3 separate regions of the Homo sapiens genome follow, and regions 1 and 2 are each linked to region 3. Evidence: promoter capture Hi-C in 16 types of primary human blood cells and fetal thymus (Javierre and others, 2016). All regions are on one chromosome and are shown on one strand. The core of a region is centred on a gene start or on the middle of the fragment in contact, and the rest is flanking DNA. Distances in the headings are between cores, read along the strand shown. Region 1 overlaps PHIP (PHIP subunit of CUL4-Ring ligase complex). Region 2 overlaps HMGN3-AS1 (HMGN3 antisense RNA 1). Region 3 holds the start of IBTK (inhibitor of Bruton tyrosine kinase).

What was found. The method cuts DNA at HindIII sites, captures the fragments that hold promoters and counts their contacts. A CHiCAGO score of 5 or more calls a contact.
Region 1: a contact is called between a fragment that was not itself captured here and the fragment with the promoter of IBTK in region 3, in 2 of 17 cell types (activated CD4 T cells and fetal thymus). The highest score is 8.3, in activated CD4 T cells.
Region 2: a contact is called between a fragment that was not itself captured here and the fragment with the promoter of IBTK in region 3, in 2 of 17 cell types (activated CD4 T cells and total B cells). The highest score is 6.5, in activated CD4 T cells.

The regions. Positions count from the first base shown.
Region 1 is chr6:79,071,891-79,074,935 of GRCh38, forward strand. All of the region lies in intron 4 of PHIP (PHIP subunit of CUL4-Ring ligase complex), which reads right to left. LOC124901346 (a long non-coding RNA gene) reads left to right here. Exons shown (of 2, transcript XR_007059652.1): 2 at 1-3,045. Among named protein-coding and RNA genes, the nearest start is that of PHIP, 4.8 kb to the right of the region's middle. The HindIII fragment of the contact is 533 bases long and covers 1,500-2,032 here.
Region 2 is chr6:79,236,270-79,239,414 of GRCh38, forward strand. It overlaps HMGN3-AS1 (HMGN3 antisense RNA 1), which reads left to right. Exons shown (of 2, transcript NR_040671.1): 2 at 1-531. Among named protein-coding and RNA genes, the nearest start is that of HMGN3, 3.2 kb to the left of the region's middle. The HindIII fragment of the contact is 1,879 bases long and covers 533-2,411 here.
Region 3 is chr6:82,245,753-82,248,993 of GRCh38, forward strand. IBTK (inhibitor of Bruton tyrosine kinase) reads right to left here and starts at 1,992. Exons shown (of 29, transcript NM_015525.4): 1 at 1,810-1,992. RefSeq lists a silencer at 1,625-1,794. The HindIII fragment of the contact is 2,262 bases long and covers 887-3,148 here.

The DNA.
Region 1 (3,045 bases), core at 516-3,015, 3.2 Mb before region 3:
ATTAGACTATTATTATTATTATTTTCTTATTATTCATCCACAACTTTCCAGATTATGAAAAAAAAAAAGAAAACCAAAAACTAACTTACAAAGAAATTCTGAATCAACTAAAAAACTGAAATCGGTTAGGATTTATTTTACCTAAAGCTAAAGTCTTTCTTGAATTCTGTTTAAAATATATATAAACAGATTGACAAAACAGAAGTCAAGACATCTCTTCTCTGACAGTTTCCAAAAAGAATACAAACTATTGTGATGGTTGTAAATCTCACAAATAACTGTATAGAAGGAGGCAGACGCCATAGCCAAATTCTCTTCATATATTCCTAAATGTCATTTGATGATTACCCAAAGAAAAAAAGCTTTGCATATTCTCTAATCCATTCAGGATATGTCAACCACCCAAATTATTTCTTAATGTTCAGTGTTCCATAAAAACAAGTCACAGTAGAAATCAGTAGCACAATTTTTCCAGAGGTCTATCCACAATGCCTTAACCATGATTTATTTTTGGTATTAAACATTTTTCCTTTATTTTTTAGACCTGTTTCATCCTTGAGTCTATAAAGTAATTATAGTATCTTCCGAAGATTTTTTTTTTCTTTTCTTGAGACAGGGTATCACTGTGTCACCCACGCTGGAGGGCAGTGGCATGGGGCACAGCTTATTGCAGCTTCAACCTCCCTGGGCTCAGGCGATCCTCTCACCTCAGCCTTCGGGGTAATTGGGACTACAGGCATGCGCCACTACACCTGGCTAATTTTTTTTTTTAGTTTTTGTAGAGATGGGGTTTTCCATTTTGTCCAGGCTGGTCTCCAACTCATGGCCTCCCAAAGTACTGGGATTACAGGCATGAGCCACCACACCTGGACTCTTCTGAAGTTTTAATGTGGCCTTTTTATACTGCAGATTCTATGTTCAGAAAGTATATACATACTTGTGCCTGGAATAAAAATGTAAATGCTTTTCTTAAAGAAAACTTTATTATAAAGCTCTAAGCAGAACAACCTTTACTACCACTACTAAAGTTCTGATAATAGCAAACCAAAACCCTTACATAGTACTTGATTCATGCCAGTTATTACTCACAGACCACACAAAGTAGAAGCTATTATTAGCCCATTTTACAGAATGGAAAACAGACTCCCTCAATACGATTCTGCCTCACAACAATCAAATAAAAACCATTATGGTTTGGGAAAGGGACATTCCAGCTCCCGCTTTATGCTCATGCCGCTTTACAACTATTTAAGAATATTAACAATATAGTAAGTATTGCATTTAAAAAGTTTGTAAATGCCTCAAATTTTAAAAAATGGTATAAGCATCAATAGAATAATTCTATATGTAAGAAAGAATGAAGAATGCTCCTTCAGCCTCTCAGCAACATATTCACACCTAACATTTTATTCATCATATAACCCTTCACGCCTAACATATTTTATTCATCATTATAACGACCATATGAGATTAAAGCTGTTTTAGAGACTACCACGCAAAGCTTCTATTTCATTGATACTCTACTAAAAAAGGAAATAGTAACTCTACTACAACTACACACATTTACTTTATTACATGTTCACCCAACCCCAAAAAATTATAATAATCAAGTGTTGAAACTATGTTATCTTCAATATAGAATGGGAATCCCTACTTCTAAAACATTTAATATGATATCTTTTTTTTTTCCCTGAAAGTTGTCTCTAGGTTTTATACCTTAACTTTCACATTAATCAGCACACACTAAATAAATGTATACCTAAGATATATACTTAAATAAATCCTATCCATCATTCCTATTCATCTCTGAATTTGAGACCAACAATAATGAAAACTAGTACTTAAACTATGATGGAAATCATGGTAATTTTGGGGCATTTTACAACGTAGTTAGTGTCTCAAATCATCTTTGCAACAAGAAATGATATTACCACCAAAGAATGGCACTATGAAAAGCATTTATATAATTTTGTAACCTATGTGATTTCTACTTTTCTGTGTTTTGGAAAACTAAGCTCTAAGAATGAAATAAAGCTTAGTTCTTAAATACAATGTACTGCTATTTCTAGTTCAAAATCACAGATTTTCAGATTGAAAAAATTTCAATCCACTTATTTTTCAAATGAGATAACTGGGACAAAGAGAAATTCCATGACTTGCCCAAGATTACCTACAGTTTAACTGTCAGCGGGGCTTAAAACCACAATCCACATCTCCTGACTCCCAATCCTTTCACTTAAAACAAACAAGCAAACAAACAAAAAAGATTTCTAATAAAGTGGAATAATTTTAAGAAAGGCAAGTATCACTATTTTACAAGGAAAAAATTAAATCATTTTAACAGATTGGCAAAACATGAACTAGTTCTTGGGGGGAAAAAAGAGAAGTCTTACAAGAAAAAATGTAATCAAGAGAGTGCCAAATTCGGTAAAATGCTTGAAAATTCTGCCTCTAGATCTCGTAAATATGCAATCATCATTAAGTGACAACTAGAAAGCAGACTTAATAAACTAACTAGATTCACTATTCAAACTAAGAAATAAACAAATGACAAAGCTTTCCTTTCGTCCAAAAAAAGTTTTTTATTCTACAGTTTAAGAATTCTGATACTTGGAAAAAGTGCCCCTTTTCTTTAAAATAAATCTCATATTTTAAAAAATGTAAAATCTAATTAAACGTATACCATAGTACCAAAAACAACTTTTAGCTTCCTATCCAATTCCATTTACTTTGTTAAAAATGTTTTAAATCTTAAGGTAGATGGTGATAATCAGTCATGTTTTATACCAGAGACAGAAACAACCATAAGATACGACCATTTCCTTTCTCAATCACACTTGAAATGAACGCATCAATTTTAACCTGCAAACTTTTAAAACTGCTCTTAAAATTCTACTTTCCTCTTGATTAAAATTCAACCATTGCGATTGTAACTAGACTAACTACAGATGATCAGTGACTATTTTTAAATTCACATCTACAAATATTACACCCCATTTTAAGCAGCAATAATTTGAGGTTTCCTAGAAATTTCAATGCGATGTG
Region 2 (3,145 bases), core at 222-2,721, 3.0 Mb before region 3:
ATCTTTAGCCAATGCATACCCTTTCAAATTAGTGCTTGTGTCCTTTTGACATGATCTTAATCATTTTTGATAGATTCCCTGTTCTTGGGCATTCAGTGAATGACAATAGTATACTGAAACGAATTAAGATAAAAACCAATTGCTTAGAGCTAGATAAAAATTTACAAGTTAATAATTTTATCATTAAAATAATATTTATAATGAAGATGTCTTTCAAGATATTAATTTGCCAAATACTTGATAGTTAAATAAAGAAAAAGTCAGTGAAAACATTTTTAGTAAGATATGTGTGAGAAGGATACTGAGTAGCACTTGCAATCTGGACTGGATGGCTATTTTTCTTCATGGAGATGGAAAGGTGCCACAACAAAGGTAGTGCTAAGGTGAATATTTCTCCTCTGTGATGAAAAATAACTCACAAAATTGGCTTCTTTGTTAATTTTTTTTCAAAACCAAACACTCAGATCATCAACAGCAAACAAAATTGTGAATGTTTTTACTGCACACAATAAAAATGCTACGATGAAATTGAAGCTTGCTTGTTGGATGAAGAAAGCTGATTGTGAGGACCTCGAGTTCTTGGAATCTTTAGTTCATTTACAAGTTATGAAAATAACAGCTTCGGTTGAAAAACAACAGCATTGCTTATCTTTCCTTTGATGTAGATTGCACCTGGCTGAGCACTACTCTAGGAAATGAAGTGTTCTCCCTTGTACCTTTAGTAGCCTTCAAGATCTGGGAAAGTCAGTGCAAACCTCTACTGGTGGCCCTGGAGGTAAGAAGAGTAGGCAAAGAGAATGATTTAGCAGGTAGCTAGAATTCTAGGTTAAGAGATAAAGACATCTGGGCAGAAATGAGGGTGTCACATAGAAGACAGTGAGGAGGTCAAGCTGGTAAGAAGTACAGACTCATTTGTTTATCAATATATTCCACTGAGCATTTCTACTACTTTGGAATATCAGCCTCTAAGACAGTAAAAGTAGGATGTATATACTATCTTAGCTAAGGTAGACCTGGATAAATTAACAGAGTTACTGACTGAGACAGAAAGAAAAAAAATAGTGAACAAACTTGTTTTCCAATTCCAGCTCCTCTCCTCTTTTGTCCTACTCAAAACTGTTGGAACTGTACACCTACTTCACATTTTTCAATCAGCAGGGCAAAACCATTTATAGTGTCATGACTATCATTAAGGAAAAGAAAGAGACAGAGACATTGACAGACACACACACGCAAACACACACACAGAGAGAGAGAGAGAGAGAGGGAGAAGGGAGAAGGGAAGGCTAAGAAAAGCAAAGAAAGGGCCAAGCATAGAAAATAGCAGAGTATATATGGTAAAGGTAAGTAATGTTTCATAAGATAATTGTTTCTATTTTCCATATGTGCTCATATAAACACATACACAACACAGATATGTATGTGTGTATGTTGGATTGTGACATGAAATATATTTTTAGTATGGTCTTGGTCAAAAAAATTGAATGCCACTGCTAATGAATGTTGTGGATCTTTGACATTCCGAAAAAAAAATGCTTAATATTAAAATTTTTTTTTTAGAGGTAAGATCTCATTCTGTTGCCCAGGCTGGCATGCAGTGGCACAATCATAGCTCACTGCACGTCAGACTGCTGGGCTGAAGAGATCCTCCTGCCTCAGCCTCCTGAGTAGTTATATAGGTGCAAGCCACCACACCAGGCTTGAGAGGAAGTTTTCAAGGGAAAGAATGACTTGCAGATCACCTCCTTCTTGAACTGTCCCTCTTTTCCTCTTTCAGGCAGACACAGGCAGGGTCCCTTAGGCTTTTGCTGTAAGTAATGACAAATTACTGGAGAAGTCAGATCCAGAATGTACATATTGTTGCTTTTGATAGTTGCAACTGTACACCTACTTTGCATTTTTCAGACAGCAGGGCAAAACAAATGATAGTCATGACTATCATTAAGGCAAAGAAAGAGACAGAGACATTGGCAGACAGACACACACACACACACACACACACACAGAGAGAGAGAGAGAGAGAGACAGACAGAGGGAGAAAGGAAGAAAGGGGAAAAGTGAAAATGATACTGTGTTGCTTCTGATAGTTTGTAATTCCAGATTAAGTTACTAATCTTCCATAAATAGGTCAAAAAATACACAGTGAAGAATTCAGGTGTGTAACAAAACAACATCAAAAACAACAAATAAGAGGTGGCAAAAGAATATTTTGTTTGTATTTTCCAGTCAAGTCTCTACTTTGATTGGGTGCTAACTTTTGAAGAGACCAAGGTTAGTTTTTACAAAGCAACAATAAGAGTCCAAGAACTAACGGTCCCAAATCAAATGAGCTGCCTGATATTAGTGCAGATCCCTAGGCCCCAGTCCCAAGGTATTGAATGGCTAGGCTTGGAAATCTGCATTTTCAAACAAGCTTTTCATGTGTTGCTTACACTATAATTCGGGGACTAGAGTATTTAATAGACTAGGCCCTTGCTCTCAACAAATATTTGCTGAATGCCGGTACTTGGATTCTGATGACAGGTATCTATAAAAGCCTGTGGAGTTCTCAACATACTTCCAGAGCAGGAGCGTAATTCTGTGGGTGAAACTCGCCCCACAGTCCTCACCTCATGCTTTTGCTCCATCTCAGTTTTGCTGGGCACAACCTGTTTATTTCACTTTCTTTCTCTTCTGTAGTTGCAAGGAACCTGAAGAGTGATTAAAAACTGCACACATCCAGATACCTAGAAAAGTGTCTTCTTCTTCCCAGGCAGCCCCTCTAGGCAGCTCCTTGGGCCCCTGGGAGATGAAAATCCCTGATCCCAAATCCTCAAAGGGAACTTACCTTGGCCAAAGCCCATAAGCCACACCCTTTCAAGGCTAAATGTCAATGATTGCATAAGCATACTTCACAACTGCATTAACAGCAAGAGGAACCAGGGCATTCTGTGACCTTCCAAGGAACCCACTCTTTGTTTTCCCAACCTTCAATCAAATTTAATATTTGTGCAGATTCTTTACCCCAGGTATGTTTTACACAGTTTTTCCACCCCTGGTACTTTTCAGGTTCAATCTCTGTGATATTTACCTCTCCTTCTTGCTCCTGCTGCTTAAACTCACAGGAGTGTGATTAATTTGCTCTTTTTAGCACCCAAATGACTAT
Region 3 (3,241 bases), core at 742-3,241:
CCTTTTCTTAGAGATTTAAAAAAAAAAGGGCAGGCAATCCAAAGACATACTTAGGATCTTGAATTGACAAGATGTGGTGGTAATTCCCAGGTTTCTGGCTTGGAGAACAGATAGGGAAACTAGAAAGAAGAGTAAGGGGTCAATACTTTGGAAGTGAGTAAAGCAAAACAAAATTAAACAACGGAAAAAACACACAAAAATTATAGGTGAAATTTTGTTTTATACATTATACACAGTGCTCTACATAAATATAATCCTTATTATTGCCCCTGTAAATATGATCACTTTCATTTTCTGATGAGGAGATTCATGTGAAAGTTTAAAAAGCCTACCTAAAATAATACCGACAGAAAAGTGCTCTTGATCCCACCTATTCTATGCTACCAAACTGCTCTCCCAAAAGGCAGTTAGAAAAATTTCAATGCAAGTAGTATAGTGTAGTAGAAAAAAGTACCATGGAATTCAATTCAAAATAATTGAATTCAAAAGCAGTTTGGTAGGGCAGCTGGAGACTCAAGCGATTCTGCCTCAGCCTCCCGAGTAGCTGGGATTACAGGCACACATCACCATGCCTGGCTGATTTTTTTGTATTTTTGGTAGAGACGGGGTTTCACCAAGTTGGCCTCGAACTCCTGACCTCAAGTGATCCGCCCACCTTGGCCTCCCAGACTGCTGGGATTACAGGCATCTTTTTTTTTTTTTTTTTTTTTGAGATGGTGCCACACTCAGTCGCCCAGGATGGAGTGCAGCGGCGCGATCTCGGCTCACTGCAACCTCCACCTCCCGGGTTCAAGCAATTCTCAGCCTCCCCAGTAGCTGGGATTACAGGCGTGAGCCACCGCGCCCGGCCTAAAAAATTTCTTGAAGTAAACTCTGGTTTGACTAAAGCTTCTGCAAATATTTGCAAATGTAATTATTTTTAGAAACCAGTTTTGTCCTCATCTACCTTGCCTCAATTTCTAAAACAAATAAAAGTTAAGGAATTCAAAATACAAAAAGAGAAATGATCAAGAGGGGGCTGGCAAGCCTGTGAATTTACACCACTTTATGGGCACTGAAACACTACTACTCATAAAAGTCATATCCTTTCAGTATTTCTGATAAATTTCAAATGGCCTACTTCGAGGCATAAGTTAAAAGGTGCTACATGAATCTCTGGCTAACACAGTCAAGTTTTATGAACTACGTTGGAAAACAGGAGTCAAGGACGGCCTATGTTACCTAATTCGCAGCTGAACTAAAACTCTTTGAGCCAGACAGCTCTGCCTGTTACAAAAACAAAGGGCCTGTCTTCTCTGTCTCTCTCAACCCTCCACCCTCCAAAAAGAATCAGTTCCTTTTTACATAGCAATCAATGTCCACTTATCAGATTTCACGACCTGCTTCCCCAGAGTCAGTATCCCCAGGGTGGACTCAAACTTGTGACTCCAGGAAGGGGATAAGGAACATGAGCGCCCACAGGAATGGCTTCAAATCCAAGACTCGAAGGAAAGTGACACTACATAACTATCACAACTAGGAATGCAATGTCGCTGGAGGGCGTGTCCAGCAGGACGGGAGCGTAGCGCATCGCCGGGACAGGCCATTCATTAGCTGAGGGGGGCGGTAGGGACCCTGGCCACTCGGCCCTCTCCGCGCCGCCTCGCGCGAAGCCCGGCAGCCTCGGGGCCACAGAGTCCCCTCCCCACGGTCCCCCCGCGCCGCCGTCCGCAGCCACCCGCACCCTCCAGAAGGCGAATACTCTCCCCCTGCCCCCGGGCTGAAGGGAAGCCGCACCGCACGGTCGGGCAGCGCCAAGCCCTCCCTCACCAGTCGCTAGATGAAACTGCGCCGGTGGATTCCGCAGGGTCCACATAGAGCCACAAAGGGACTCATCCTCAGTGAAGGCAATAAGAGAAACCGAACGGCGCCAGAGGGGCCAGTCCCCAGACCCGGGTCAGTTCGGCAGGCGGCTGCAATACAGCCGCTACTACAGGAATCGGGAACGGGGATGTAGAGGAAGGGCCCGAGCGGGCGGTTCCCAGTAATAAGGCGGGCGCTGGTTGGCTGGGGCTCCTGTATGTCTCTTGATGATTGGCTGGTGCCTGCCCAGAAGGTTTCGCGTGGCAGCACCTCTGCCATGGCCTTTTCCCTGGCGCCCCAAAGGAACTTGACCTCGCCGGCCTTGGGGCCGCTGACTCAGGCCAGGGGCGGGGAAAAGAAAAAGGCCGCAGCGGGGAACTCTAGGCCAACAACGGTGATGGGAGTGTCCCTTTCAGGCCAGCCATCTCGTAGTTAGAAACGTCTCTCTAGGTAGCTGGAGACTCGCGGGGGAGGCTAAACCCGAGTGGAGAAGGAGACCTGGCAGGATGCCTTGGACACCCGGTCGCTACGCAGCAGAAGCCAAGTGCATAGGCGTCCTGCACAGAAGAGTTTCCTCCCATGGCCTTAGCAGTGGGGTTACTGCAAAGCCAAAGGTGTAGTCTCCGTAAACCCAGCCTCACCCCTCTCTGGATCTCCATACACCCGGATTATCTGGCAGTCACTCCCTTGGTCAGAAGGCGTCACTGCCCTCTTAGATCACCACCGTAGGACTAGCTGCCGACCCGGGTCACGCCACTCACTGCCTGACACCAGGCTTACACTAGGCTTTTTCCACTTGAACTCTGAATCTAAAGGCCATTTAGAAAGTGGTCAAGTGAAAAATGCTAGGAGGGACAGTAGCCAATAATCAATACTAGGTTACTGAATGGGAAACACACTGCTGCTGAATGCCTAATACGGTAAGCACTCAGTAAATGATTGTTCAAGGAGGTGTAGTGTGACTCAAAACAAACGACACTAAGAATCATGAGTTGGCTGTACAGCTCTGCCACGTTGAGTTTTACAAGCCACTGAGTCGACCTCATCTAATCTCTAAAAGAAAGGAGTTGCGCATGTCTTAATGCCCACTGAGCTCTGCTTGCTCTCTTTTGAAGCCTTTTTTGTGGGAGGGTAGGTTACTAGCCCAAAGCCACACAGCTGCTTAGCGAAAGAGAAAGGGAGACTAGGACCCAGCCCTCCTACTGCCCTTCCCAGCACATAATTGTTTCTTTGCTCTTTATTCTTAATGTCCTTCTACAAAACAAAAACCAGTTTGTAATGTCAAAATTGAGTGGTTTTGAAAATAAGCTTAAGTTGGCCGGGCGCGGTGGCTCACGCCTGTAATCCCAGCAATGTGGGAGGCCGAGGCGGGCGGATCACGAGGTCAGGAGATCGAGAC